Linked DNA regions of Homo sapiens: all the other regions are linked to region 4. The links are contacts of gene promoters, found by promoter capture Hi-C in blood cells and fetal thymus (Javierre and others, 2016). All regions are on one chromosome and are shown on one strand. Each heading gives the region's core, a stretch centred on a gene start or on the middle of the fragment in contact. The rest is flanking DNA. Distances are from core to core; before and after follow the strand shown. Region 1 holds the start of TAF5 (TATA-box binding protein associated factor 5). Region 2 overlaps TAF5 (TATA-box binding protein associated factor 5). Region 3 overlaps PDCD11 (programmed cell death 11). Region 4 holds the start of NEURL1 (neuralized E3 ubiquitin protein ligase 1). Region 5 overlaps PDCD11 (programmed cell death 11).

What was found. The method cuts DNA at HindIII sites, captures the fragments that hold promoters and counts their contacts. A CHiCAGO score of 5 or more calls a contact.
Region 1: the fragment with the promoter of TAF5 here is called in contact with the fragment with the promoter of NEURL1 in region 4 in 2 of 17 cell types (M0 macrophages and M1 macrophages); the score reaches 5.4 in M0 macrophages.
Region 2: a contact is called between a fragment that was not itself captured here and the fragment with the promoter of NEURL1 in region 4, in 1 of 17 cell types (M1 macrophages). The highest score is 5.5, in M1 macrophages.
Region 3: a contact is called between a fragment that was not itself captured here and the fragment with the promoter of NEURL1 in region 4, in 15 of 17 cell types (M1 macrophages, M0 macrophages, megakaryocytes and 12 more). The highest score is 12.9, in M1 macrophages.
Region 5: a fragment that was not itself captured here is called in contact with the fragment with the promoter of NEURL1 in region 4 in 3 of 17 cell types (M0 macrophages, M2 macrophages and M1 macrophages); the score reaches 5.8 in M0 macrophages.

Annotation. Positions count from the first base shown.
Region 1 is chr10:103,366,366-103,372,268 of GRCh38, reverse strand. It overlaps TAF5 (TATA-box binding protein associated factor 5), which reads right to left and starts at 4,293. Exons shown (of 11, transcript NM_006951.5): 1 at 3,721-4,293. The coding sequence starts at 4,279. RefSeq lists enhancers at 2,991-3,060, 4,191-4,430, 4,183-4,477 and a silencer at 3,521-4,060. The HindIII fragment of the contact is 22,064 bases long and covers 1-5,903 here.
Region 2 is chr10:103,380,292-103,386,080 of GRCh38, reverse strand. TAF5 (TATA-box binding protein associated factor 5) reads right to left here. Exons shown (of 11, transcript NM_006951.5): 6 at 4,240-4,360; 7 at 2,714-2,843; 8 at 591-755. Among named protein-coding and RNA genes, the nearest start is that of MIR1307, 11 kb to the left of the region's middle. The HindIII fragment of the contact is 1,603 bases long and covers 471-2,073 here.
Region 3 is chr10:103,417,128-103,422,562 of GRCh38, reverse strand. It overlaps PDCD11 (programmed cell death 11), which reads right to left. Exons shown (of 36, transcript NM_014976.2): 14 at 4,631-4,771; 15 at 3,929-4,123; 16 at 2,855-3,025; 17 at 996-1,215. Among named protein-coding and RNA genes, the nearest start is that of PDCD11, 23 kb to the right of the region's middle. The HindIII fragment of the contact is 7,810 bases long and covers 1-5,435 here.
Region 4 is chr10:103,492,219-103,498,160 of GRCh38, reverse strand. It overlaps NEURL1 (neuralized E3 ubiquitin protein ligase 1), which reads right to left and starts at 4,456. Exons shown (of 6, transcript NM_004210.5): 1 at 3,689-4,456. The coding sequence starts at 3,773. NEURL1-AS1 (NEURL1 antisense RNA 1) reads left to right here. Exons shown (of 4, transcript NR_120675.1): 3 at 3,426-3,600. RefSeq lists silencers at 3,778-3,877, 3,958-4,087, 4,098-4,247 and an enhancer at 3,562-4,111. The HindIII fragment of the contact is 3,415 bases long and covers 3,367-5,942 here.
Region 5 is chr10:103,400,057-103,405,852 of GRCh38, reverse strand. PDCD11 (programmed cell death 11) reads right to left here. Exons shown (of 36, transcript NM_014976.2): 3 at 5,325-5,456; 4 at 2,568-2,735; 5 at 670-831. Among named protein-coding and RNA genes, the nearest start is that of PDCD11, 6.3 kb to the right of the region's middle. The HindIII fragment of the contact is 8,494 bases long and covers 1-5,796 here.

The DNA.
Region 1 (5,903 bases), core at 3,044-5,543, 130 kb after region 4:
CATCAGCACACCCATATCTTAAGATAACAATAACAGGCCAACACGGTGGCTCACACCTGTAATCCCAGCACTTTGAGAGGCTGAGGCGGGCAGATCACAAGGTCAGAAGTTCAAGACCAGCCTGGCCAACATAGTGAAACCCCGTCTCTACTAAAAATACAAAAATTAGCTGGGTGTGATGAGACGTGCCTGTAATCCCAGCTACTCGGGAGGCAAAGGCATGAGAATCACTTGAACCCAGGAGGCAGAGGTTGTAGTGAGCCAAGATCGCTCCACTGCACTCCAGCCTGGTGACAGAGCAAGACTCCGTCTCAAAAAAAAAAAAAACAATAACAAGGAGTCAGTATTTCTCCTGGAACTACCTGATGTTAAAGACAAATTGTATAAAAGATATGTGCAAATCAAACAACTACATTAACTTTCTCTCAATGCTCTGTGCAAATGGCACCCACCACGACCAAGCCATGCACTGCAGTAACATTCCCAGCTCTCTGGGCCACCCAAGCACTGTGTAACATTCTTGTAACATATCCTATCCTGTGTTCCCTTCACATTATATACATCTCTTACCCCTTACAAAATGTAAGTACTTAAGGGTGGGAAGGACCATGCCTTATTTATATCTTCAAAAGATAGTTATATGCTTAAGACAATTTCCATAACCACCACTTCAAAACAGAAAACGTAAGTATTTATTGGTAATACAGCACCACCTAACAATACATCTGTCAATTAAATCAGTCAATTAATCTGTCAATTAAATCAGAATTTGGTTGTTGGAAATTTCTGTAAGTTGCCATTATAGTACACTTTGCTCTTTACTGCAGAAATGTGATAATTTCTTTGGTTACTCTGATGGCCTCTTTTCCTCCTTACTGATTTCTCAGTTATGATCTATAATTAGGTCAAGTTTCTGAAGAGATCTGAGATTACAGCAAAATAACCAACAATATAATTCATCTTATAGTTCATTCACAAAATTCAACATTCAAAAAAGATTCCTCTCTCTTTTTTTTTTTTTTTGTAAAGACGGAGTTTTGCTCTGTCACCCGTGCCAGAGCACAATGGCTTGATCTCAGCTCACTGCAACTTCTGCCGCCTGGGTTAAAGTGGTTCACCTGCCTCAGCCTCCTGAGTAGCTGGGGCAACAGGCACATGCCACCACGCCCAGCTAATTTTTTTGTATTTTTAGTAGAGATGGGGTTTCACCATGTTGGCCAAGCTGGTCTTGATCTCCTGACCTCAAGTGACCCACCCGCCTTGGCCTCCCAAAGTGCTGGGACTACAGGCGTGAGCCACCGAGCCCGGCCTTCAATCACATCTGCACACATTTCTATTTACGGATTACAATGAGGTATGAATACAATGCTATGTATGAATACTTCATTTCTGGCAATGCTGCAAAAATTAGGCCTCATACAGACTAATTTGGCTAAAAGCTCTGCACTGGGTAATTCAATAAACATTTATTGTTAGCTCAGGATCACCTTTGATACCTTATACGGTATATGAGTTTTACTGCATGGATTTGTGACAACAGTTGCTGGGAGAAAGGAGGGGCTCAGGTTTCAGGTACATACACAGAGGCATAAACTTATCCATACCAAACATTTTACATATAGATATTATAAGTGCCTCAAGTGGCCGGGCACGGTGGCTCACGCCTGTAATCCCAGCACTTTGGGAGACCAAGGCGGGTGGATCACAAGGTCAGGAGATCGAGACCATCCTGGCTACCACGGTGAAACCCCGTCTCTAATAAAAATACAAAAAAAATTAGCCAGGCATGGTGGCACGTGCCTGTGGTCCCACCTACTCGGGAGGCTGAGGCAGGAGAATCGCTTGAACCTGGGAGGCGGAGGTTGCAGTGAGCCAAGATCACACCACTGCACTCCAGCCTGGCCGACAGAGCGAGACTCAGTCAAAAAAAAAAAAAAAAAAAAGCCTCATAACCACTCATTTAATAGAGAGAGAAAATTCAACATGAGAATGACCTGCCTCCTGACAATATTAATGTAAAAAAAAAATTTTTTTTTTGAGACAGAGTCTCGTTCTATCACCCAGGTTGGAGTGCAGTGGCGCAATCTTGGCTCACTGCAACCTCAGCCTCCCGGGGTCAAGTGATTCTCCTGCCTCAGCCCCCCAAGTAGCTGGGATTACAGGCATGCGCCACCACGCCCGGCTAATTTTTGTATTTCTAGTAGAAAGGGGGTTTCGCCATGTCGGCCAGCCTGGTCTCAAACTCCTGACCTCAGGTGATCCACCCGCCTCAGCCTCCCAAAGTGCTGAGATTCACAGGCATGAGCCACGACGCCCGGCCAATACGAAGGTAAAAAAAATTAAAAACTAAAAAAATAATGACAATCAGCATCACACAAGTAAATGCAGCAAAGACAAAAAGGTCTGTCCAATGCCCATGCCTAAACACATGGCTCTCAAGCTGCCATATGTCAATACTCCTTAGAAGCACTTATTCAAAAGTGAAGATTCCCAGATTCCACCTCTAGAGGACCTGATTCACTAAGTCTGAAGTGATGCCCAGGAACCTGCATCCTCCAAAGACTTAACACTGGTGGTACTCAGCCCATATATATTTTTAAAATTTCAGCCGGGTGCGGTGGCTCATGCCTGTAATCCCAGCACTTTGGGACGCAGAGGTGGGTGCATCACGAGGTCAGGAATTCAAGACCAGCCTGACCAATATGGCGAAACCCCATCTCTACTAAAAATATATTTTTAAAAATTAGCCGGGCGTGGTGGCGCGTGCCAGTAGTCCCACCTATTCGGGAGGCTGAGGCAGGAGAATCGCTTAAATCTGGGAGGCAGAGGTTGCAGTGAGCTAAGATCACGCCACTGTACTCCAGCCTGGGCGACAGAGCAAGACTCCGTCTCAAAAAAAGAAAAAAAGAAAAAGAAAAAAAATTCAACTTTTAGCTGAGATTCAGGGGGTACATGATGTGCAGGACTGTTACAAGGGTATATTGTATGGCGGCCGGGCGCGGTGTCTCACGCCTGTAATCCCAGCACTGTAGGAGGCCGAGGCAGGTGGATCATCTGAGGTCAGGATTTCGAGACCAGCCTGACCAACATGGTGAAAGCCCGCCTCTACTAAAAATACAAAAATTAGCCGGCCGTGGCAGTAGGAGCCTGTAGTCCCACCTACGCGGGAGGCTGAGGCAGGAGAATTGCTTGAACCCGGGAGGCGGAGGTTGCAGTGAGCCAAGATTGCGCCACTGCACTCCAACCTGGGCAACAGAGCAAGTTTCCGTCTCAAAAAAAAAAAAAATCTATAAAGTATTTATCAACACATCTTTTAAGAGGAACTAAAGAAATAAAGAGAAAATAAAGTACTTACAGTACTTAAAGTACGCTAGTACGAAACTGTACAAACACTGTTAGTGTCATGCGGACCTGCCCAAGGCTCAAAAGCCCAAATGAAAGGAAAGGGACCAAGAGCGTGAAGATCCCGCCTCTCCGCGCTCACCTTCCCCATACATCCCTCTGCTCAACAGCTCTCCTCAGCTTCTCACTGGAACTGACAGCTCGGAAGGGGGTTTGACTGCGCAGCCCGCGCACTAGAGAAAGGGGCGGGCATGTGGCCCTAGAGGCGGGCCCAGGAAATTCAAAACAAGCCCGCAGAGGTGCAGGCCTGCCAGCCCCTGCCTTACCGGCTTGCTCCCCTTCGCGGCGGCCGTACCTACCCGGGACCCCACGGCTCACCTTTACCCGGAGCCGCAGGACCTGAGGCTGAACCTGAGACGACCGTGGCCCCCGAAGCGCCAGTGCCCGGAGGGTCGGGGGCCGCAGGGCCAGGGGCCGAGGCGGTCACCCGGCTGAGAAGCGCGCTGGTCACCTCAGCGCCGGCGCTGTCCACCTCTCCCGGGGCTCCGGAGCCCGCCACTGCCTCCTCCAGCAGCCCGGCCTCACGGCGCAGCGCCTCTTCGGCCTCGCGGAGTTTGCTCTGCCGTAGGAACTGCAGCACGGCCAGTAGAGTCTGTCGGTCATGCGGAGCGCCGGCGTCCGGAGCAGCGGCGGGCACCGGGGCCGCCCCCGCCGGGGCAGCGGCGGAGACAGCCACCGTGGGCTTGGGGGTCCCGCCATCCCCGCCAGTGGACGACGACGCCGCAACGTTCCCGCCGCCGCCGTTGGGGCCGTTGTTGGTAGTGCCGCCGCTACCCTCGCCTGCGCCGTCCCCCGCCTGCGGAGGTAGCAGCGTTGGCGGTCCCTCAGGCTCTAGCTTGACCGCCACCTCCGTCTGCTCCTCCGCCAGCGCCGCCATCTTGCGGCTGAGCCACCTCGCGCCGTCAAGCGTGATTGCATTTTCGCCACATGGAGGGCGGGGAGGAGCATTTCACGACAACTCTAGTAGGCCATTTACGGCAGTAGGAGGAGCGAAAAGGAAGGAGAAACGGAATAGGAAAGAGAGCAACTTTCAAAACCGAGCGAAAGAAAGGCAGGAAGTGGGCATTGGTGACCACCTATTACATTTGCCTGAGAATAATTGCCATTTATTGCAGGCCAGCTATATTTAGGCATTATGATAGATGTTTTACATTATGTGATCTCCTTCAATTCAATAATCTTTTTCTTTTTTCTTTTTTTTTTTTTTGAGACGGAGTTTCGCTCTTGTCGCCCAGGCTGTTAAGCGATTCTCCTGCCTCAGCCTCCCCAGTAGCTAGGATTACAGGCATGCGCCACCACGCCCTGCTACAATTAAATAATCTTATGAGGTAATATTATCCCCACCTCGCAGATGGCTCAGTTGAAACCAAGAGAGGTTAAATAACTTACCAGAGGCAAGAAGAAAGTCCAAATGTCAACATTCGAATCCACGTATTTAACTCAAAAACATATACCATTTGCCAGAGGGAGGCTTCCGAGATACTGGTAGTTTTACATTTTGACCTGAATAGTGCTTACTTTTTTTTTTTTTTTGTCATTTTTACTTTTGTAAAAGTTAATCGAGCTGCATGCATTACATTACATTTATTTATTTATTTAACTTTTGAGACGGAGTGTCGCTCTGTCGCCCAGGCTGGAGTGCAGTGGCCCGATCTCAGCTCACTGCAATCTCTGCCTCCTGGGTTCAAGCGATTCTCCTGCCTGAGCCTCCCGAGTAGCTGGGATTACAGACGTGTGCCACCACGCCCGGCTAATTTTTGTATTTTCAGTAGAGACAGGGTTTCGCCATGTTGGCGAGGCTGGTCTCCAACTCCTGACCTCAGGTGATCCACCGGCCTCAGCCTCCCAAAGTGCTGGGATTACAGGCGTGAACCACTGCGCCTGGCCCGTATACATTACATTTCAATAAAAAGTTTTTAACGCCAGGTGCGGTGGCTCACGCCTGTAACCCCAGCACTTTGGGAGGCCGAGGCGGGCGGATCATGAGATCAGGAATTAGAGACCAGCCTGACCAACACGGCAAAACCCCGCCTCTACTAAAAATACAAAAAATTAGCCAGGCATGGTGGTGCGCCCCTGTAATCCCAGCTACTCGGGAGGCTGAGACAGAAGAAGAGCTTGAACCCGGGAGACGGAGGTTGCAGTGAGCCGAGATCCCGCCACTGCACTCCAGCCTGCGCGACAGTACGAGACTCCGTCTCAAAAAAAAAGTTTTTAAATACCAGAATGTTGTGGTTGTGAAATATGTACGTTATGTATTCATGCTATTATCCGTTATTACAAATAAACCATTTTAATTGTATATTTAAAAATCATGGCCACACGCAGTGGCACATACCTGTAGTCCCAGCACTTTGGGAGGCCGAGGCGGGTGGATCACCCGAGGTCAGGAGTTCGAGACCAGCCTAGCTAACATGATGAAACGCCATCTCTACTAAAAATATAAAAATTTAGCCAGGTGTGGTGGCGGGCACCTGTAATCCCAGCTACTCGGGAGGCTG
Region 2 (5,789 bases), core at 23-2,522, 110 kb after region 4:
GTATGGAAGACAAGGTTAAGTATCTGATGGGGTTGGGAGGGAGGATTGTTAATTAACTATTTTTTAAAAACCAGGATTCATATAGATGTAATTGCAGATATAATAATACTCCTGCCCCAATTTCTTTTCTTTTTTTTTTTTTTTTTTTTTTTTTTGAGATGAAGTCTCGCTCTTGTCCCCTAGGCTGGAGTGCAATGGTGCGATCTCGGCTCACTGCAACCTCCGCCTCTCAGGTTCAAATGATTCTCCTGCCTCAGCCTCCTGAATAGCTGGGATTACAGGTGCCTACCACCACGCCCGGCTAATTTTTGTATTTTTAGTAGAGACGGGGTTCCACCATGTTGGCCAGGCTGGTCTCAAACTCTTGACCTCAGGTGATCCATCCACCTCGGCCTCCCAAAGTGCTGGGATTACAGGCATAAGCCACTGCGCCCGGCCCCAATTTCAAATAAGTTATAAATGCAAAAGCTTCTCAGAAAGTTGAACCTCAATAATGGAAGTGTAAATGAATTTGGCTGGCTGTGTAATTCCCAACAAGAAACCATTCTGTTCATTGAATAGACCCAGTCATAAGATCACAGTGTTCTTACCGAGCTACTCGGTCATGGCCCCCTGACACAAAATAATATCCATATGGAGAAAATTGTGTGTCCCATACTGGATAGTTGTGTCCTTTATATCCCACCAAACAAGTAAATGTTTGAAGGCTCCACAATCTAACAGTTCCGTCCTCTGAAGAGGAAAGCAGATAGTTCCTGAGAGAAGAGAAGGTGATATATTTGACTCCCAGAGTAACCTTTGGTCACCTGCCCAGTTTTATATACATTTGAATACATTTAATATTTTATATATATTTGACTATATTAAATATACCTAACATGCTGCATCTCACTTTTAATTCATACACGCAATTCACAGTAGGTATCAATTGAAAGAACTAACCAAACTAATGTTAACCCTGACACTCTACATATACCGAGCACCTACTGAATGAGGTAATATGATACAAAAACTTAGGGAAAATCAGAGTTCTTTACAAGAAAAAAATAGCAGGGGTAATTAACAAAGTATAGTCAAATAAGGTCAATTGAGAAAGTTTAAGAAATGTGATATGTCACTTAAAACTCAACAATTTTTGACCCTAAAATAAAGATGCTATTTTCCCATGCTGTGTAAGCTATGTAAGAATTAAAAAGGAAATGTCTTTTGAAGAAAAAGAAAAAAAAACTACAGACATGCTAATAATTCTCTACCTTTTTCAAGCATAAACACAAAAGATTGATAGTCAGAAGGTTATTACAATTTTCACTGAAATCAGACGTTTCCCTCAAAAATGTATCATCTGGCAAAACCTTATCAAGCAACAAAAAACCTAATTCTCAAAGTTTCGTAATGATGAAACCTTGATGGATGGAAAGCTATTATCTTTTTTTCTTTTCTTCTTTTTTTGAGATGGAGTTTTGCTCTTATCACCCAGGCTGGAGTGCAGTGGTGCAATCTCGGCTCATTGCAACCTCTGCCTCCCATGTTCAAGTGACTTTCCTGCCTCGGCCTCCCAAGTAGCCAGGATTACAGGTGGGCGCCACCACACCCTGCTAATTTTTGTACTTTTTAGTGGAGACAGGATTTCCCATGTTGGCCAGGCTGGTCTCAAACTCCTGATCTCAGGTGATGCGCCTGTCTTGGACTCCCAAAGTGCTGGGATTATAGGCGTGAGCCACTGTGCCCGGCCTGAAAGCTATTATCTATCCAAGTAATATACTGATGGTATTATGAATACAAAACACCCTCCACCCATTTTTACAGTGTTAGAGATCATGAAAAATAGGCAAATACCTATACACATAGGATGACATTGTAATCATACACCTAAAGGGAAGCAAACCAATTTTGAATTTCCTTTTTCATTTACTCTTAGTACTTTTGATTATAGAAAGATTAATCCTCAATTACTAGCTAATATGCCATTAATGTCAGGAATTTGTCTTAAATTTGATGAAGCAGCCAGAAGACACAATGCAGGGACCCAATGAAGCAATTCAACCCCTAATGGAGTTCTATAAAACTAAAGCTTTGGTTGGTTATTTACCATTGGGTAACAAATAAAAATAATTAAAAAAAAAAAAGGGAAATACTAAAGCTAATTTTTAAAACCAGTAAGCCCTGAAACTGTGCATTTTGATTCTATAAATTTGAGTATACAGGCCAGGCACAGTGGCTCACGCCTGTAATCCCAGCACTTTGGGAGGCTGAGGTGGGCAGATCACCTGAGGTTGAGAGTTCAAGACCAGCCTGACCAACATGGAGAAACCCCATCTCTAATAAAAAAATAAAATTAGCCAGGTGTGGTGGCGCATGCCTGTAATCCCAGCTACTCAGGAGGCTGAGCCAGGAGAATCGCTTGAACCCAGGAGGCGGAGGTTGCGGTAAGCCAAGATCACGCCATTGCACTCCAACCTGGGCAACAAGAGCGAAACTCTGTCTCAAAAAAAAAAAAAAAAAAGTGAGTATACATTAAATTGCTACCATGTACAAACACCAGGATTCAAAGATGAATTAGCAAATGGCAAGATTCTAAAAGATGATGAACGTCAGACAACCATGAGATTTTTATCAGAATTTTCCCAGCATTTGCATAATGTTTCCAGTAGTTAACTTTTATATAATTTCAATATAACATAGCAGTATTTAATTTTTATTGTTTGTATTTTACCTATCCGGACTGAAGCTGGCTCCGTAGACAGGCCCACTGTGACCATACAAAATCTTCAACTCACTTGCTGTTTTCTCATCCATGATTCTTTCTAAGACATCATCTGATTCTTTGTCTATAAGACTAAGATCTAAAATGGTCCAGAAATATTGATATTTTATAAGTACATTCATCAAAACTTTTAAAGTAATCATATCACAGTGCAGGAGAGGAATTAACATTTGAAAATTTCCTCCTATATACCAACCGCACTTTGCTAATCCCTCTAAATTAGGCAGTATCATCTCAGCGTGTAAGAGAAGAAAATGACGTTCAGAACAGATAATTTGCTAGAGTGCACACAGCTACTCAGTGTGGGAACCAGAACTGAAACTCAGTTTTGCCCACTATGCCACAGTGTTTCACAAAATGAAAACTATGGGCCAGGCATGGTGGCTCACACCTGTAGTCTCAGAATTTTGGTAGGCCAAGGCGGGCAGATTGCTTGAGCCCAGAGGAGTTCGAGACCAGCCTGGACAACATGGAGAAACCCTGTCTCTACAAAAAATAAAAAATTAGCCAGTGTGGTTGCACACACCTGTAGTCTCAGCTACTCAGGAGGCTGAAGTGGGAGGATCACTTCAGCCCAGGGATTAGAGGCTGCAGTGAGCCGTGATCACACCACTGCATTCTAGCCTGGGCAACAGAGTGAGACCCCATCTAAAAAAAATTTAAAATTAAAAAAAAAAAACCTATGGAAATATTGAAATAATTTAAAATATATTGTTTTATTTAAATAATATAGTTAGTAAAAAACTTTATTTCAGGCCGGGTGTGGAGGCAGGAAAATCGCTTGAACCAGGGAGGTGGAGGTTGCAGTGAGCCACCTATAATTCCAGCACTTTGGGAGGCCAGACAGGCGGATCACTTGAGGTCAGGAGTTCGAGACCAGCCTGGCCAACATGGCGAAACCCTATCTCTACTAAAAATACAAAAATTACCTGGGCATGGTGGTGGGCACCTGTAATCCCAGCTACTGGGGAGCTGGGGAGCTGACACAAGAAAATCCCTTGAACCTGGGAGGTAGAGGCTGTAGTGAGCCAAGACTGCGCCATTGCACTCTAGCCTGGGTGACAGGGCGAGACTCTGTCTCAAAAAAACAAAAAGTAAAAAACTTTCAAATAAAATCCTGACCTTATTTGTTCTTTTTAGCCATTTTTATGACTAAAACAGGAAGTACCATCCCTTATTTAAAGATTTTTTAAGATTTACAAGCAATCATAAAATGTTAGATTTTTAACTTTAAGTTTTTTAGCTTAATACTCACTCATTCTACAGATGAGAAAACTGAGACCTAAAGAAATTAAACCAGTCTAGCACCCCAGTCACTCCAAAGCTTTTTTCACTGTTGGGAATGTTAGAATCTTGAGTTAAAGTAAAATCAAGTGAATTTCTGTAAAGAACACAATCTCCTGTGTATTTTCCATGGAATCAAGATTGGTATAGACTAATGGCAAGTTCACATTCCAAAAGGTCATCTCAGTTACCTGATGCTTGTTTGACACTACGAAGCTTTTTGGGTGTTACCGACCACACTCTGACAGTTGAATCTGCAAAACCTCCAGCAATCAGACTAGAATCATCAGTGACATCCACTGCAGTGAGACCCTGCCAATAAAAGGGTTAGACTAAACAATACTATTTTAGGATATTTAGAGATAGGAAGCAAATGTTAATCATTTTCACACTATACTAAATATCTCCTCAATCCTCTATTTTAAGGAATATATAAAGACTTTTAAAATTCTTGATTTAAAATATTGGCCAAGCGCACTGGCTCATGCCTGTAATCCCAACAATTTGGGAGGCTGAGACAGGTGGATCACCTGAGGTTAGGAGTTCAAGACCAGCCTGGCCAACATGGTGAAACCCCATCTCTACTAAAAATACCAAAATTAGCCAAGCAGGGTGGTGGGCACCTGTAATCCCATCTACTTGTGAGGCTGACGCAAGAGAATCACTTGAACCCAGGAGGCAGAGGTTGCAGTGAGCCAAAATCGTGCCACTGCACTCCAGCCTGGGCGACAGAGTGAGACTCCATCTCAAAAAAAAAATAATAATAAAATAAAATACTAAGTTTGGCCGGGCGCGGGGGTTCATGCCTGTTATCACAGCACTTTAGGAGGCTGAGGCGGGTGGATTGCCTGAGCTCAGGAATTCAAGTCCAGCCTGGTCAACCTGGTGAAACCCCTTCTCTACTGAAAATACAAAAATTAGCTGGGCGTGGTGGCTCATGCCTATAATCCCAGCTACTCAGGAGGCTGAGGCAGGAGAATCACTTGAACTGGGAGGCGGAGGTTGCAGTGAGCCAAAATTGCACCACCGCACTCCAGCCTAGGTGTCAGAGCAAGACTCCATCTCAAAAAATGAAATTAAATTAAAATAATAAAATAAAATAAGGTTTATATGGCTGGGCACGGTGGCTCACGCCTGTAATCCCAGCACTTTGGGAGGCTGAGGCGGCCAGATCACTTGAGGTCAGGAGTTCAAGACCAGCCTGGGCAACACGGCAAAATCCTGTCTCTACTAAAAATACAAAAATTAGCCAGGCATGGTGGAGGGTGCCTGTAATCCCAGCTATTCAGGAGGCCGAGGCTGAGGCACAAGAATCGTTTGAACCCGGGAGGCAGAGGTTGCAGTGAGCTGAGATCTCACCTCTGCACTCCACCCTAGGTGACAGCACAAAACTCTGTCTCAAAAAAAAAAAAAAATTGATAAATAAGTTTACGTAAGTACTTAAACCAAGTTCAACAGAAATGAACTACAATTTGCTCCTCCTCAAAGGCTAGCAGAATTCTGATCGGTGAAACAAATGCCATTAAACATTGACTTCTATCTATTCTGTGCAGTATCCAATTCTCTCTTCCTGAATGCTGTCTTTAAATTGTATAAGAGTTTAGGGGCCACATGCGGTGGCTCATGCCTGTAATCCCAGCACTTTGGGAGGCTGAGGCAGGCGGATCACAAGGTCAGGAGATCGAGACCATCCTGGCTAACACGGTGAAACCCCATCTCTACTAAAAATACAAAAAATTAG
Region 3 (5,435 bases), core at 1,557-4,056, 74 kb after region 4:
AAGGTGAAAAGGCGAGTGAATTCACAGCAAATGCAAATATAAAGCCACAGAACTAAGGGAAATTTTGACTCTGGACTGGCAGTGGGGAGAAGAGGACATCTAGGATGCTCGTAATGACCTTTATCTTAAAGGGGTGTAATATAAACATTTATTGAGCTGCACACATAATAACTGTGCACTTTGGCCGGGCGCAGTGGCTCACGCCTGTAATCCCAGCACTTTGGGAGGCCAGGGCGGGTGGATCACTTGAGGTCAGGAGTTCGAGACCAGCCTGGCCAACATGGCGAAACCCTGTCTTCTCTAAAAATACAAAAATTAGCCAGACATGGTGGCAGATGCCTGTAATCCTAGCTACTCCGGAGGCTGAGGAAGGAGAATCGCTTGAACCTGGGGGGTGGAAGTTGCAGTGGCCAAGATCGCACCACCACACTCCATCCCAGGCGACAGAGTGCAACTTGGTCTCAATAATAATAATAATAATAATAATAATAATAATAATAATAATAAAATTGTGCACTTTATGCAGGTCATACTTCCATTAAAAAAAAAGTTAACCCAATTTTTTTTTTCTTTTTTTTTTTTTTTTTTTGAGACGGAGTCTCACTCTGTCACCCAGGCCGGACTGCGGGCTGCAGTGACGCAATCTCGGCTCACTGCAAGCTCCGCTTCCCGGGTTCACGCCATTCTCCTGCCTCAGCCTCCCGAGTAGCTGGGACTACAGGCGCCCGCCACCGCGCCCGGCTAATTTTTTTTTGTATTTTTAGTAGAGACGGGGTTTCACCTTGTTAGCCAGGATGGTCTCGATCTCCTGACCTCATGATCCACCCGCCTCGGCCTCCCAAAGTGCTGGGATTACAGGCGTGAGCCACCGCGCCCGGCCCCAAATTTTTTTTTCTTATGTTCTGGGAAGCCCAACAACTCACCTAACAACAGGTGTAATTTACAACACATACTCCCACCCCTGGCCCACCTCCCCTGCCCCACAGGTGCCCCACCTCGGTTGCTCATAAGGCTGCGCACGCCCTGCAGCTCCTCCAGGCACTGATTCAGGAGGAGGAGGCTGGTGATAGCCAAGTCCCCCAGACCACAGTCCGACAGCCGCAGTGACAGCAGCATCCGCTGCTTCTCCTCATCCACATTGGTCACCTTTGCCGCTACTGTCTGGCCCTCAACAAAGTGGTCACTTGTGGAGGTCACAAATTTGTCACTCATGATCTGAACAGAAGAACAGGCAGGAGATGAGAAGAGGAAAGGTCTTCATTAAGACAACCCACTTGATGTTCCTGGAAAGGGGTACGTGAGTAGGGGGAAATGGGGCCTAGGAAGCTCCCCCAAGCCCTCTCTGAACACAGCTCTACTTCCCTTCCATAAAAACAGAGCCTCCGGATTGGCTGGGAGCAGTGGCTCACGCCTGTAATCCCAGCACTTCGGGAGGCCGAGGCGGGCAGATCATGGGGTCAGGAGTTCCAGACCAGCCTGACCAACATGGTGAAACCCTGACTCTACTAAAAATACAAAAATTAGCCAGGAGTGGTGGCATGCACCTGCAATTCCAGCTACTCGGGAGGCTGGGGCAGGAGAATCACTTGAATCCGGGAGGCAGAGGTTGCTGTAAGCCGAGATTGCGCCACTGCACTCCAGCCTGGGCGACAGAGTGAGACTCCATCTCAAAAAAAAAAAACAAAAACAAAAACAAACAACAACAACAAAAAAAACAGAGCCTCCAGGAGAGGGCACCCAGTCAAGAAGGCACATTCACAGCAAGCCAGGCAGACACCAGGGCTGTCCTCACCCCTAACAACCCACGGGAACCCTCTGCCCCTCACTGGGCTTGTTTCTGGGGCCCTCCCCTCTGCTCCCATTTTTAAAATGTTTCTGGCAGGGGATGCAAATGAGATTTTCCCAGGCAAAACACCAGGGAGACAGGCCTACAGAGGGGAAGAAATACTGATGAATGATCTGCAGCAGCAATCAGCTGCACGCCATTTGCTCGCTGTCTTCCATGACTTTGGTGAGTCCCATCCCCTCAATAGGCCTCGGCTGACGTGCCAGGCACACCAGGAGGCTCTGCTAGGGGACTGCTGGGATTGTTCCCATCTGAAAGTGCAGGACTCAATGACATGGGGGTGGGGGAGGTAATAATTTCAAAGACATTCTGGTCCCTTAACACCTCAAAAACCTCAGAAGTCTGCAAAACCTGTACTCAGTAGCTCAGGATGATCAATTTCCCTGTCTAAGTGTGCTGAGAGAATAAAAACAAGTGCAGTCATCTTCACACTGGAGACTAAGGCCTTCAATGTGTAGTGTGGAGTGGGAAAGGTGTCCCTTCCTCCAGATGGTCACACAGCTGGGCGAGAGGAACATGGGCCAAAAGCTCAGCTGCACTCACCCCTCCCAGGTGCCTTTATGTCACACACACCTTAAGAGGTACCCCTGAAAATCTTTCAAAAGAGTAAAGTATCCTTGGCCAGGTGCGGTGGCTCACACCTGTAATCGCAGCACTTTGGGAGGCCGAGGCAGGTGGATCACTTAAGGTCAGGAGTTCAAGACCAGCCTGGCCAACATGGTAAAACTCTGTCTCTACTACTCAAAAAAAAAAAAAAAAAAAAGCCTGGCATGTTGGTGGGCACCTGTAATCCCAGCTACTTGGAAGGCAGAAGCAGGAAAATCGCTTGAGCCCAGGAGGCGGAGGTTACAGCGAGCAGAGATCACACCACTGCAAGCCAGCCTGGGCGACAGAACAAGACTGTCTCAAAAAAAAAAGGAATAAAGTATCCTACTCCTCCCTACCCGCCCTCAGGTTCTGTGACCTTGTATCTCTCCTCAAAGCCCTTGTACATGGAGTTGAACTTACAGCTTTTGGGGCCAGTCCGCTAAGACCTGAGGGGAACTGGATGAACACGCCATAGTCCTTGATGCTCTTCACAAAACCAATGAGCAGCATTCCAGGATGGATTTCTGAGAAGTTCTTGGGATCCTGGCCACCTTCTACTGTGGAGACCAAGGCTGGCTTCCTGCAAAGAAGCTAGTGGTACTTCATCAAGGAATGTTCCAGAAAGGGCAGATGAAATGTCCATCTCTCCCATCTCCTTTCTCCACAGAGAAGGACAGAACTGCAGGCTGATCTCTGCTGCTACAGCGATTCTCTAAGTGTGCAGACCAGCAGCATCAACATCGCCTGAAACTTAGGAGAAATGCAAGTTCTCAAGCACCACCTAGACCTACTGAATTAGAAACTTTGGTGTGGCCCAGCCATCTGCATGGCCCAACTGCACACTACAGCTGAGAATCACGGTTTTATTCCATTCCCGATTCACTAATCTGCAGATTACTAGAGGACACCAAAAAGGGATGGCTCATCCCCCTGGTCTGGCAGCTGGATCAGCCATCACACAATCCTCTACTACTCCCTCTTTACACTGATGAACTCATTTTCCCTCCTCTGCCCATTTTTACTCCCAGGAGAATGAACTTTACATTCTGTGAGAAGCTCCTTCAAAGCACCCATGCAAAGACCAAAGGGAATATTCCTGAGCCTATAGCCCCGCGGGGAGAAGGCATAGGGGAAAAAAAAAAAGAGGAAAGGGGGACAGAAGCCACCTTATTATTGGTTCTAACCCAAGGGGCAGGCACTGAAAGCCCCAAGAAAACTAGATGTGCTCCCAAGCACCCCACTGGGCCTCCTTCTCCAGCCTCCGAGAGTCCCCCTCTCTGCAACCTTTCAGGCTACTCCGCCCTGACCACCAGCATCTGCTGGCAGCACTTACTCAGGCCTGCTCTTACTTTCCATAGCACAGGCTTCATCACTGGTTTGGTTTTGTGGAGATATTTCTGAGGTCAAATAGCTGTCTAATTTCCCCAGAATTTCCCATCCAAGCACCCATGGCCCCCCACCTTCCTCTGCTCCACAGATACCAGTCAAGGATACAACACGCCCCTCGCTCTGGCTCAGACACAGGACTCGGTGAAGGATGTCACCTGCCTGGAGCCAATGATGTAACAATGGGCCGTTGGCAACGTGGTCCGACAGATGAGATGTGGGGAGGAAAGCACGGATGTTGTGGGGCAGGACAGCCACCTCCAGCCCATCTTTGGTCTTCTCTAAAACCTTCACATCTACCAACTACCCAGGGAAGAGAAAGACAAAAATAGCACTTGTCATGAACAGAGAACAACCTGGTCTGGATTAGGCAGGGCTTGGAGGCATTAAACTCCGGCACCAAGGATCTCTAAGAGGCAGCTTTCTTCCAAACCCCACCCACCACCCCAACCACCCAGCATGCATGTACGTGCACATTCACCAGGACTCATGGGTGGACCCATCGCACTCCTCTCTCAAGTCCCTCCACGGAGCCCCAGGAAAGCCAGAACTGCAGGCTGGCCCTAGGGACCCGAGAGGAAAGAGGTCAGCAGCCCACTGCTGAAAAGCCTCACTGTAACAGGACTTTCAGGGACAGCTTCCATTTGTTCTGACACACAGGAAGGAATGCGTATGAACCCCTCTAGCCCCAAAATCTTATCTAGCTACCTCTATCTTTCCGCTTCGTGGGTTCCAATATGCCATGTGTTAGTGGTTCCCTGCTCTCTGCCACTGTAACATAAAATAGCTTGTCCAGAGAAGTCCACGTACCTGCCCAATGTTAATGGCTTTTCCTTTCTTCTGACTGTGTCCTGCAGGCTCTTTCTTTGGCTCTGGATCACTCGACAGCTTGAAGGATAAGAGCATCCTCTCTTTGGATGGCTCACAGTTCAATACGACAACCTTCACCACCTGGCAAGAAACCACACAGGCTTGGCCAACTCCTCCCAGCAAGCCTTGCAGGCCCTGCAACGTGCCCTCCACTACTGCTGCAGAGGACTTGGGAGATCTACCGAGCCTTTGGATCAGATCAGGAGGCAGTGAAAAGAAGAAATGCACTGAGAGCTACACAATCCCCCAGGGCAGCCTTTGGGATAAATGGAAGACATAAGTAACTTTTTTTGTACAATCCAAGTCTTAAAAATTATTTTTCTTTTTGAGGTGATGGAGATGCTAATTACCCTGGTTTGATCGTTACACATTGTAAGCATGTATTGAAATATCACATGGTGGCCAGGCTTAGTGGCTCAGGCCTGTAATTCCAGCACTTTGAAAGGCCAAGGCAGGCTGATCACTTGAAGCCAGGGAGTTCGAGACCAGCCTGGCCAACATGGCAAAATCCCATCTCTACTAAAAATACAAAAATTAGCCGGGTATGCCGGCACATGCCTGTAGTCCCAGCTACTTGGGTGGCTGAAGCACGAGAATCACTTGAGCCTGGGAGGTGGAGGTTGCAGTGAGCTGAGATCACGCCATTGCACTCCAGCCTGGGTGACAGAGGAAACTCTGTCTCAAAAAAAAAAAGGAAAAGAAAAAAGAAATATCATATTGTACCCCATAAATATGTACAATTATT
Region 4 (5,942 bases), core at 3,207-5,706:
TTTTCTCCAAGAGGCATGAACCTCCTGTGCACCCTACCCCAGTCACTCTGTGCCCCTCACTGAAAATATATACATAACTTCCATATACATATACTTTCTATTTCATGTAATATATAGATATACGCTCAAGCCCCTCCAAGCCTTTACTGTCAGTGCCTTTCCCCCTTCTTCCACACCCTAGGACTCTGCTGCATCCCTTGCTTTCTGTCCAGTTCCTGCAGTTCCCTCCATGTCCAGCTCAGATCCTCCCCTGATACCCCTTGTCTGACCTCTGCCCACATATCTGGGTTTCGACAGTACAACCAAGCAAACACTTGATTCCATTCACTCCCTCATCCATGCCTTTTGAGTAGATCTCCAGCCTGGGAAAGCCCAGGGGTGTCTTATCTCTGAGCTGGGCACATGGGAGCTCCTCGGGCACTGCCTGTTGGTTCTAAGCCCAGAGCTACACCGTGGACCTCTCCCCTGAACACTCCTAGACCAACGCTGTTCAGAACCCAGTGGGAATCACCAGCAGCAGAGTGGGGTCAGTGTGTTCCCAGGAAGAAGACCAAAGTCTATCACCCGAGAGGCGATGGTGGGGTCCCATGTCCCATGTCATGTCAGCCTAACAGCCAGACCAATCTTAGATCTCCAATCAGTCCCAGGATCCCCATTATACCAGGTCCCTTCCAGTTGTTTTAATTAAAATGGTGAGGAATCAAGAGACTGAAATTATGTAAGGAGAGAAAAAAATCAAGACAGTCACTCCACCCCTACTCCCAGCAAATTTCTGGATGAGCACTGACAAGAATTAGAGATGAATTCAAGCTGAGTACAGACGCCATCCCAGCAGAACTCTGGCTAGGCAGTTAGCATCACAGCCTATCAGGTCAACACCAACACAATTAGAATGAACTTCTGGCTGACCACTGATATACCAGAGAAGACTCGTAGGTCAATGCTGATACATTTAGAAGAGAATTGGGAATAAACACTAAACAATTACAGAATAAAGGTGATGGCTCTATTAGGGTAGAAAGACGGGAAGAAGTCCTTAGAAGTCAAGCTGAGAAGGAGGATCAGTGGACCTTGGGTGAAGGACAGAGCCAACAACTGGCGGCCTTCATGGGTACCTTCTGTCCTTCATTTCAGGCTTAGTAGGGGCGGGATCAAAATTCCCATGGTCACCTACAGTGGTGTGTGGATGGGGCCCCCACTCCTGCCTTCTGCCAAAGACCCTAGCCACAGAGACCTCAGATCCCCACAATTCCAAATTTTAGATTAAAAAGATGCAATTAGTTGGGAGCTCTCTGGGTTTCCACAGAGTCAAGGATGGAGCAAGACCTTCTCAGGAAGATAGTCTGTGAATATTAAGGGCCAACTAACCCCTGCCCCCAGCTAACCCTTGCCCCCTGAAGGACAGGGCCAAGTTTTGCCACTTTAATTTGGGCAAATAATTATTCTTTTCCCTCATTATTCTCACTTGCAGAGAAGGTTGAGCTGAACGATATTCATAGGTTCATTAGGAATCTGTTTCCAATGCTCAGAAACAGTCTTCATACTTGCTAACACTGATAGCTTATTTCTGATTACAAAAATAATACTTCCTTATTATAGAAATTTTAGAAAAGAGCAAAATATAAAAAAGAAAAAATGCAATCCCATATGATCCTATACCCAGAGGAAATAATTGTTAACCCTTTGGAAACTTTACAAGCATTTTTGCTTGTTTTGTTTTTGTTGGGGTTTTTTGCATTCACACCACTTTTTAAACAAAATTGGGATCATACAGTCTTCACAACTTTGTATTCTGTCGTTATACTGTGAGCATTTTCCACAGTCATCAACTATTCTTCACAAATATAATTGTAATCACTGCATAGTACTCTACCAAGAATATATACCATGATTACTGAGCATTTAGGTTATCCACCTAGTATAAATAACACTGCCATGAACATCCTAGCCTAGTGCCATAAGTATATATTCCTGCATCTCCACTTCCTTAGTATCAATTCCTCAAGGTAGAATTACAAGGTCAACAAACTGATTTTTTTTTTTTTTTTAGCAAGACAGAGTCTCGCTCTGTCGCTCAGGCTGGAGTGCAGTGGAACGATCTCAGCTCACTGCAACTTCCATCTGCCAGATTCAAGGGATTCTCCTGCCTATCTGCCTCCCAAGTAGCTGGGATCATAGGCACGCACCACTATGCCCGGCTAATTTTTGTATTTTTAGTAGAGACAGTGTTTCGCCATGTTGGCCAGGCTGGTCTGGAACTCCTGACCTCAAGTGATCCACCTGCCTCAGCCTCCCAAAGTGCTCGGATTACAGGCGTGAGCCACCGCACCCTGCCAACAAATTGATATTTTTAAAGTATCTTGACATGTATTGCCATATTAATTTCCAGAAAGACACAACAAATCCACTGATTTTCCTGAGCCAAGTGAAAGCTGAAGTTCTGAAAGAGCTGGAGTATTAGAATGCAGGACAGTGGTCCTATCTCTCCTCCTCTTCCCTGGTCTTAAAAGTTAACTGTTCAGCAAAAGAAGGGACAGAATTCCAAGTCAAAAGATAGGGGTCTACAGCCTAGCACCTAGCGCCGAGGTCTGGCTGGCTTTGGGAACCTGAAGCAAGCCTTGGTTCTCCTCATCTGTAAAATGGGTATAGTGTGATTAGCTCTGCTCTGCTGACTACCCCAAGCAGTGTCCATGCTCACTGAAAATGTGTTTGAGAAAGTTCGATGCCTTGTGTTAAAGGGCACTATTGTTATCCTTCTCATAACCTGAGGAGCTTAGGAAGTGGGGTATTCTTTCTGAAAGCCCAAGGGCTTCCCTTCCTGGCTTTTAGCCATCATGCCCAGGACAAGTGCCACTGGTTCTGAGGTGACAGAAAAGCACCTTCCGGAAGGAATTTAGTAGGGTCTGAGGGCCCGGGAGGACCCAGCAGTGTCTTCCAAAGGTCAGAGACAGCATTGGAAGATCCAAGACAGGAATGGCAGGCTCCGAATGGGGAGACTGGGCCTAGGGCCACCCTGAGGGTGCTGAGTGGATCTGGGGAGGTGAAGAGCAAAGACATTCCTAGTAAATGTCCCTCTGTTTCAAGGCTCCCAGACCCTCTTTTCTAGGGCTCTGACTGGATATCTGGTCTTTGGGAAAACCAGAAATCAAACTAATTCAATGGATGCAAAAACCCAACGGCTGCAAAGGACCCCAGGAACCAGCAGCTCTGACCCTTTCTTCCAGGCTGCTGTAATCCTGTCCTGAATTTTTAAAACCCTCCCATTGGAAATGCAACTAGTGCTCCCAGCCTGGTCTCTCCAGCCCTAGGGCCGATGGAAAGGAGACCCATCGAGGTGCCTCCCTGGAGACACGGACGACCCAAGCTTCCCTCCTCACTCCCCACTCCCCTATCGACCTGGCAAACATCCTTTCCCATCTCTTCAGGCTCGCCTAAGACCATGGCCTGAGGGGACTCCAGTGACGTTCCCAGTGCCAGCAGACAGAACTGCGCAGACCCCGCGGGACGCCATCCTCCATCACCATCATCGCCGGCTGCCCTCCACCCCCAGCCCACTCCACGGCCAGAGGTGCATCTCCGGCCTCCAGACACGCACAACAGGTGGCGTCTGCCCGCCCTCCCCAACCACACCTCCCTGGCCCTCCACCTGCGCCCCAGTCCTCCAGCAGCGCTCGGCCGGGGAGCCTACCTTTGAGGTTCTGGGGGTGGCCCCGCGGCGCGCGGCTCGGGTTTCCTCGGGGCAGCGAGGGGATACTGGAGAAGTTGTTACCCATGGCATCCGGCCCCAGGAGGTTCGGCGCTCGCGGGTGGGGGCGAGGCCGGGCAGGCGCTGAGGTGCGGTGTGCGAGTGTGCGCGCGCGGGTGCGCGCCACCGGGGGAGGGCCCTGCTGGGGCTGCAGCCGGGGGCGGGCGGGCAGCTCCTCAGCTTCCTTTCTCTGGACTTCGCGGTCCTTGGCGGGTTCCGCCCGCCACGGGTGTCCTGGCGCAGGCTGGGCTACCTGCCTCCCATGCCCCGTGGCGGGAGCGGGGGCCACAAGCAGGGCCCTGGGCCGGGGCCGGGGACGCCCGGGGCTCCCCGCTTGCTCCCCGGGACGCTAGGGTTCCGGCTGGGGGTGGGCGGCGCGGCGGCTCCGGCGCGCTCCCCCGGGGCCATAGAGTCAGGGTCGCTGGCGTGGGCGTTCGGCGGCTCCGAGGCAGGCTCGGTTACCGCCCCGCGGAGACGGCCGCGGCGGCGATGTGCGTGGCTCCCTCCCGCCCGCGGGTCTGCGTGGAGCGGGGCTCGGCGGAGCGCGGGGCGTTCTGGGCGCTCCGACGCAGCTGGTGTCCCCCGACCGCCGCGGTCCCGCCCGCGCCGGGTCCCTCCTGCGACCGCCGCCCCCGCCCCCCGCCCCGGCAGTCTCCAGGATTCCCTCGCTCCGGTTGTTATGGTGACAGCTGCGCCGGTGAATGAGCGTCTTAGTGACACGCGCGCGCCCGCTAGGCCAGATGTGGCCCCGGGGCGCGCCGCGTTCCCGTAGCCGCAAGCTCTCGGCGGCGCGGGTCGGGGTAAGACATCAGGCGAGTATGGTGGCACCCGGGGCTGGCCTTATTCCCAGCACGGAAACATGGAACTTGCACTTGAAAACAAGGGGAGCAGGGCCGCGAGAACGCCGAGCTCCCCGGATGCGGGGGCGGGCGAGCCAGCACTAATGTTCGGTTTCCCTAGCTCCAGGTACCGGGCCTGGCGCAGAGTGGAGAGCCCAGGGAAACATGTAAATGAGCGAGCGGATGCTTGGATAAAGTAATTGAGATTAGAACCCCGGCACTTGACCCTCCGTTCTCAGCCAGGCTAGGGGCACTAGGGCAAGGGTTCAGAGCAGGAACCCCGGGCAGTCTCACTGATGCACAGATGCCACTGAGGGCCTTTGAATGCCCGCGGACCAGACTCACAAGCCTGGAGCTCTGGCCAAGCTGAGGGAACAGATCTCCGGGACAGATCATCAGAAGACCACCAGCTCTGAACTGAGTGGTTCTGTTAGCTATAACAAGGTGGGGGAGAGGAGCCTCTGCAGCCTATGGCAGTCAAAGAAGGCTTCCTGGAGGAAGGGGGTTTCAGCAAGGGCCCTGCTCATGTGGCTAGTGCCTTCCTGTAGCTCAACACTGCACCAAGAAGCCTTCAGGAAGGGAAACAGAAGTCATTCTTCTCCTTCCTGGACCCGGGGCATCTCTCCTGGTCTATCAGGGATGGAAGATGTTCCAAGGTTCCCCCCAGGGAATCAGACTTCCTGCTCCTCTAAGTCATCTCTAGCTCCCTGCTCTGGCTTCAGCAACTCAGATCCAGAGTCCAGTGAAGACATGGGTGGGCAGGGGGACATCTCATGTATCCTTTTCTGTAATAAAGGTTCTTCCCCCAAGTCTCCATTTGGCAGCTCCTCATTATCTAGGCACAATTCGTGTCCTGACATTCCCTGACTGCCCCAACTAAAGGACCCCCTCCACTGTCAGTCACTTTCCACAATATTCCATTTTATTTTCATCATAGCTTTTATATGGAACTTGTTTACAAGTAGCCTTTCCTCGTTTATCTTCTGCCTCCCTGCTAGAACATAAGCTCTGTGAGGGGAGAGCACAGGTCAGTCGTGTTCACCAGGGTGTCCTTACCCACTGGGGGAATGCCTGGCATGTGACAGATTCTCAGAAAATAATTGTGGAATGCATGCTTCCCACTGTGGGCCAGGAGGCTCCACTGAGATCCCTGGGGGCAGAGCCTCCTGAACCACCCTTTATTTTCCTCTCCTACTCTCCTCTCTCCATCCCCATTCCAGGCATTCTACCCTTAAATGTCTGGGACTCCAGGCAAGCTAGAAATATCTGTGACAGCCACTGTCTCTCTGGAATCTGGAGGGAAAGGCAGCCCCGAACCCGGCCTCCAGCCTCCCAGATGCCCAGGATCACGTGTGCAG
Region 5 (5,796 bases), core at 1,652-4,151, 91 kb after region 4:
CCACAATCCCACTAGACAGCAGACATCAAATTCAACACTCCCAGGCTTGAAGGAGCTGATGGTTGCCAGGCAATGAGGAATGTTTAACACAGCTGAATGATGGAACAATATAGAAGAGTCTCTTGCCTCAAGTGGTTTCAAAAGATAGCAAACTTTCGGCAGGGCACAGTGGCTCATGCCTGTAATCCCAGCATTTTGGAAGGCTGAGGCAGGCAGATCACTTGAGGTCAAGAGTTTGAGACCAGCCTGGCCAACATGGTGAAATCCCGTCTCTATTAAAAATACAAAAATTAGCTGGGCATGGCACCTGTAATCCCTGCCTCAGGAGGTTGAGGCAGAAGAATTGCTTAAACCCAGGAGGTGGAGGCTGTGGTGAGCCGAGATCATGCCACTGCTTTCTAGCCTGGGCAACAACAGCGAAACTCCGACTCAAAAAAAAAAAAGAAATTTGGACTTGCTTTCTCTTTTCTCTTCTCCAATGTAATGATTAGGTTCAAGTCTTCAATGTCCATTAAGTGCCCAAAGAACCCAAGAGACCTTCCTTCCAGAAAAAGAACCACTCCTATGTGTCACAATTGAGCTGAAAGTAAAAGGTGGCCTAGACCACGCTCCCTCAGAGGCAGAGAGAAGGCACATTGCCACTCTTCCTCCCCGACCCTAGACACCTACCATGCCAGGCTTCAGGGCCTCAGCACTCAGCACTCTGTTGACATTTTTGGGGTTCAGAGACAGCTTGACACTCTTCTTGCCCCTGTCTGTGATGCCCAGACTGCTCACCACACATCTTACCAGCATTCCAGGTGAGAAAAGTTCAGGCAAGTGAAGTAGGTCCTGCATAACACAAATGAGAAAGACCTGATATACACCCTTCTCCTGAACCAAAAATCCATTACCCAGCTTTGGCTCAGTGACTTCTCATCCTCAGACCCCAGAGAACCCAAAAGGTGGGTGAGGAATAACCCCCCATCCACAAAGGAAGTTGGGTCTGTGGCCTAGCCACAGTCTTGAATTTCAGCATAAGGCCTTCAAATATTTCCACATAACTGGCATGTAAAATGACTTGTCAAAAGAGTTGTCTACACTTTCTGCCTCTACTTCATCCCTTACTCATTCTTCGGCTCACTGCAATCTGCTTTCCACCCCTCTCACTCCACCACTCTATCTCCCATAGAATCACCAATGAGTTCCATATTGTTAAATCCAGTGGTCAGTTTTGCAGTCTATCTCTTACATGACCATTAAAAAGCACTTGAGGGTCGGGTGTGGTGGCTCATGCCTGTAATCCCAGCACTTAGGGAGGCCAAGGCGGGCAGATCACCTGACGTCAGGAGTTTGAGACCAGCCTGGCCAACATGGTAAAACCCTGTCTCTACTAAAAATACAAAAATTAGCTGGGTGTGGTGACATCTGCCTGTAATCCCAGCTACTCAGGAGGCTGAGGCAGGAGAATTGCTTGAATCTGGGAGCTGGAGGTTGCAGTGAGCTGAGATCATGTCACTGCACTCCAGCCTGGGCTAAAGAGTGAGACTCCATCTCAAAAACAAACAAACAAACAAAAATCATAGGTCAGGCATGATGGCTCACACCTATAATCCCAACACTCTGGGAGGCCGAGGCGGGTGGATCATTTGAGGTCAGGAGTTAGAGACCAGCCTGGCCAACATGGTGAAGCCCTGTCTCTACCGAAAATACAAAAATTAGCTGGGTGTGGTGGCTGGCACCTGTAATCCCAGCTACTGGGGAGGCTGAGGCAGGAGAATCACTTGAACCCAGGAGATGGAGGTTTCAGTGAGCTGAGATCATGCCACTGCACTCCAGCCTGGGCAACAGAGTGAGACTCTGTCTCAAAAACTGAAAAATCATGATCATCTCTCCCAATCCAGGTCCCCTTCAGGGTTTCCTATCTCAGGATGTCATGACCAAGCATCAAATCATGCAAAACAGAAACCTAGAACTCAGCCCTGACACCTCTATCTGCCCCACCACCCATATTGAATCTATCACCAAGCAATGACTTTGCCTCCTCAGTCCTCAGGAAATCCTGAACCCAGGTCACCATCAATCTCAGGACGTGAACGACTACAAGAGCCTCCTAACTTGTCTCTAAGCAACTTCTCATGCCTCTTCAATCTACACGTTATGCTGTACCCCAGTGAGAACATTTCAAGGACTTCCCATTGATTCTAGAATTTAAAAACAACCCTTAAAATGGTCTACAAGGCTGCATGTGCCCTGGCCCCCATTCAGGCTCTCCTGCCCATCTCACATCACACTCTCTCTTGCTCTCCTTACCTAGCCATACTAGCCTTCTCTCTGTTATATATTACATTGCTTCTGCCTGAACGCCTTTCCTTCTTTATCTAGGGAACCCTCATTCTTTAGATCTCAGCTTAAGCATCCCTTCCTCAACAGTCTTCCAGGCTCCCAGACTTAGTCAAAAATTCCTTTATGATAAACTCTCACGGGACCTTGTACTTTCCCTTCTTAGCACCTGGCAAAGTTGTAATTTTAAATCTATTTGTGTTCCACTTATTTTCAATAACAGGCTTCATTCGGATTTCCCTTACCTTCAGAGGTTGTTCTTGTGTCACCTGCTCATTCAGCTTTTTGGTGTAGGCATCACAGATTTCAGTGACTTGCACAAAGCCCTGGAGGCCATTGGGGAGACTAATCACCAGTTCCAGTTCATTCACCTCTTTCACGCAACCCAAAATACGCATTCCCTCACACAGGGACTAGAAGAGAAAAAGTGAAATGTGTACAATAAGGATGGGAACAACAATAGGGAAGGTTGGAAGGTCTGGCTTCTAGTGTCAATTTAAAAGCTATAAGGCCAAGCACAGTGGCTTACGCCCTATAATTCCAATACTTTGGGTGGCCAAGGCAGGAGGACTGCCTGGGCTCAGGAGTTTCAGACCAGCCTGGGCAACGTAGTTTCTCCAAAAAAAAAGATTAGCCAGGCATAGTGGTACACGCCTGTAGTCGCAGGTACTCGGAGGTGAGTGGATCGCTTGAGCCAGGAGGTTGAGTCTGCAGTGAGCTGTGATCACACCACTGCACTCCAGCCTTGGCAACAAAGTGACACCCTATCTCAAAAAATAAAGATAAAAAATAGGCCGGGTACAGTGGCTCATGCCTGTAGTCCCAGCACTTTGGGAGGCTGAGGCGGGTGGATCACCTGAGGTCAGGAGTTCGAGAGCAGCCTGGCCAACACGGCAAAACCCCGTCTCTACTAAAAATACAAAAATTAGCCGGGCATGGTGGCAGGTGCCTGTAATTCCAGCTACTCAGGAGGCTGAGGCAGGAGAATCACCTGAACCTGGGAGGTGGAGGTTGCAATGAACTGAGATCATGCCACTGCACTCCAGCCTGGGCAACAAGAGTGAAACTCTGTCTCGAAAATAAAAAAATAAAAATAAATAAAAAATAAAAACCTACAGGAATTTTATAAATGAAAAGAAATACACATGTGTACATATCAGTGAACTTCTCAAATATCTGACCGAGCACTGTAAAAGGTCTAGATTATACAACAGTGTTAACAGCACTGGGATACTGGAGGACACCTTTGCCTTTTACATTATTCTGAGCAACCCAAACTCAAATGCCTGGCAGACAACACAATGAAGGAAGCCAGCTAGTGGAGACAATGGCAGTCTGGAGTGACCATGCCAGGTCTAAAGGACACAACCACTACTCAGCTCCTTGTCATTACAAACATGAGGGAATACGGGCCTTCTGCTATCAGTACTTTCAAATTTTTACAAGAAGCCAGAAATCATATTTTCATGTAAAAAAATTTTTAGTTTTCAGCCAGGTGCAGTGGCTCACGCCTGTAATCCCAGCACTTTGGGAGGCGGAGGCGGGCAGATTACAAGGTCAGGATATTGAGACCATCCTGGCTAACATGGTAAAGCCCCGTCTCTACCAAAAATACAAAAACTTAGCTGGGCGTGGTGGCGGGCGCCTGTAGTCCCAGCTACTCAGGAGGCTGAGGCAGGAGAATGGCGAGAACCCGGGAGGCGGAGCTTGCAGTGAGCAGAGCAGAGATGGCACCACGGCACTCCAGCCTGGGCGACTGTGCGAGACTCCGTCTCAAAAAAAAAAAAAATTTTAGTTTTCTAATGTTGGCACCAAGTCTAACAATTTTTTTAAAGTATCATATAGGACAAAATATTGACTCTGAATCTAGCCAAATATGAATGTTCCTCTTCAAAGTTATTTAACTTCTTTTCTTTTTTATAACTAACACATATTGGTGTTATCATCTAAAAATGTAAGGCAGGCTGGCCGCGGTGGCTCACGCCTGTGATTCCAGCACTTTGGGAGGCCAAGGCAGGCAGATCACGAGGTCAGGAGTTCCAGACCAGCCTGACCAACATGGTGAAACCCCGTCTCTATTAAAAATACAAAAATTAGCCAGGCGTGGTGAGACACCTGTAATCCCAGCTACTCAGGAGGCTGAGGCAGGAGAATCGCTTGAACCCGGGAGGCAGAGGTTGCAGTGAGCTGAGATCACATCACTGCACTCCAGACTGCGCAACAGAGAGAGATTCCGTCTCAAAATAAATAAATAAATAAAATAAAATAATTTCAAAATTAAAAAATAAAAAATAAAAATGTAAGGAACACAGACCACTTCAATTCTTGGAAATGGGTTTCACATCTATGAAATGAATGGGTAAGATGAGAATGACTGCTAAAGTTACTGTCCATTCTAACCTCTGAATATATCAGAACTCAAGTCCTGTGAGGACACAAACAAGCCCACGACAGCTTTAAAGGAAAAAAAGGGGGCAGGCACGGTGGGTAGCTCATGTCTATAATCCCAACACTTCGGGAGGTTGAGGCAGGAGGATTGCTTGAGCACAGGAGTTCGAGACCAACCTGGGCAAAATAGCAAGATCCAAGCCCTACAAAAGATTTAAAAATTAGCTGGGCATGGTGACACACACCTTTAGTAGTCCCAATTTCTCAGGAGAAGCTGAGGCAGGAAGATTGCTTGAGCCCAGGAGTTCAAGACTAAAGTGAGCTATGATCATGCCTGCATTCCAGCCTGAGCAACAGAGTCAGGCCTGTCTCTGGAAAATAATAAATAAATACAAAGAAAAAGAAAAGATTCCTGGCATCGGTTAGCAATGGAAGGAAATCATGCTTACTCCTTAGCATAAATTCCAAGCATCTCTACACACACACGCATGAAATATAATATATTAAGGGGAAAATGGAATTAAGGGAAAAAAGAAGGAAAGAAGAAAAAAAGAACATACACAAACTTAAGCAACCAAGGTCGATTGTTTAAATGAAAACCAACTTTAACAAACCTCAACACTAAGGATTTCAAACTTCTCTCTTGCGGACTTGCTGCTTTCTCTCTTTTCGATTTTCAACTTTTTTGTTTTTGCTGGCCCCTTCTGGCTCTTTTTTCTTTTGGTGGATCCCTCTTCAGTAGAAATCTAGAAGCGGGTAGGGGGAGCCCACAAAGACCCAAAAGAATAAGAAGCAATCTGAGTTTTCCCTCCTATTTCAGGTCATCACTCACCTTGCTTTGTTACTCCTTCACTCCACCCTACCCCATCCCACTCCCAATTGTTCCTTTAATTCTTGCTTAAAAAAAAAAAAAAAAGGGGGGGGGCCGCCAATGTTCCCTCTGCCCAAGGTCTGAGAAGCCTCCTTCATGTTCCCAAAGTCTCTTCTCTCTTGTGTTCTCCCTCTCTTGACTGGGATGAACACTGGGTTCCCCAGTTTGAGAAGCAATGTAGAATAGTGCATGAAAATGGACACCAGAGTTACACA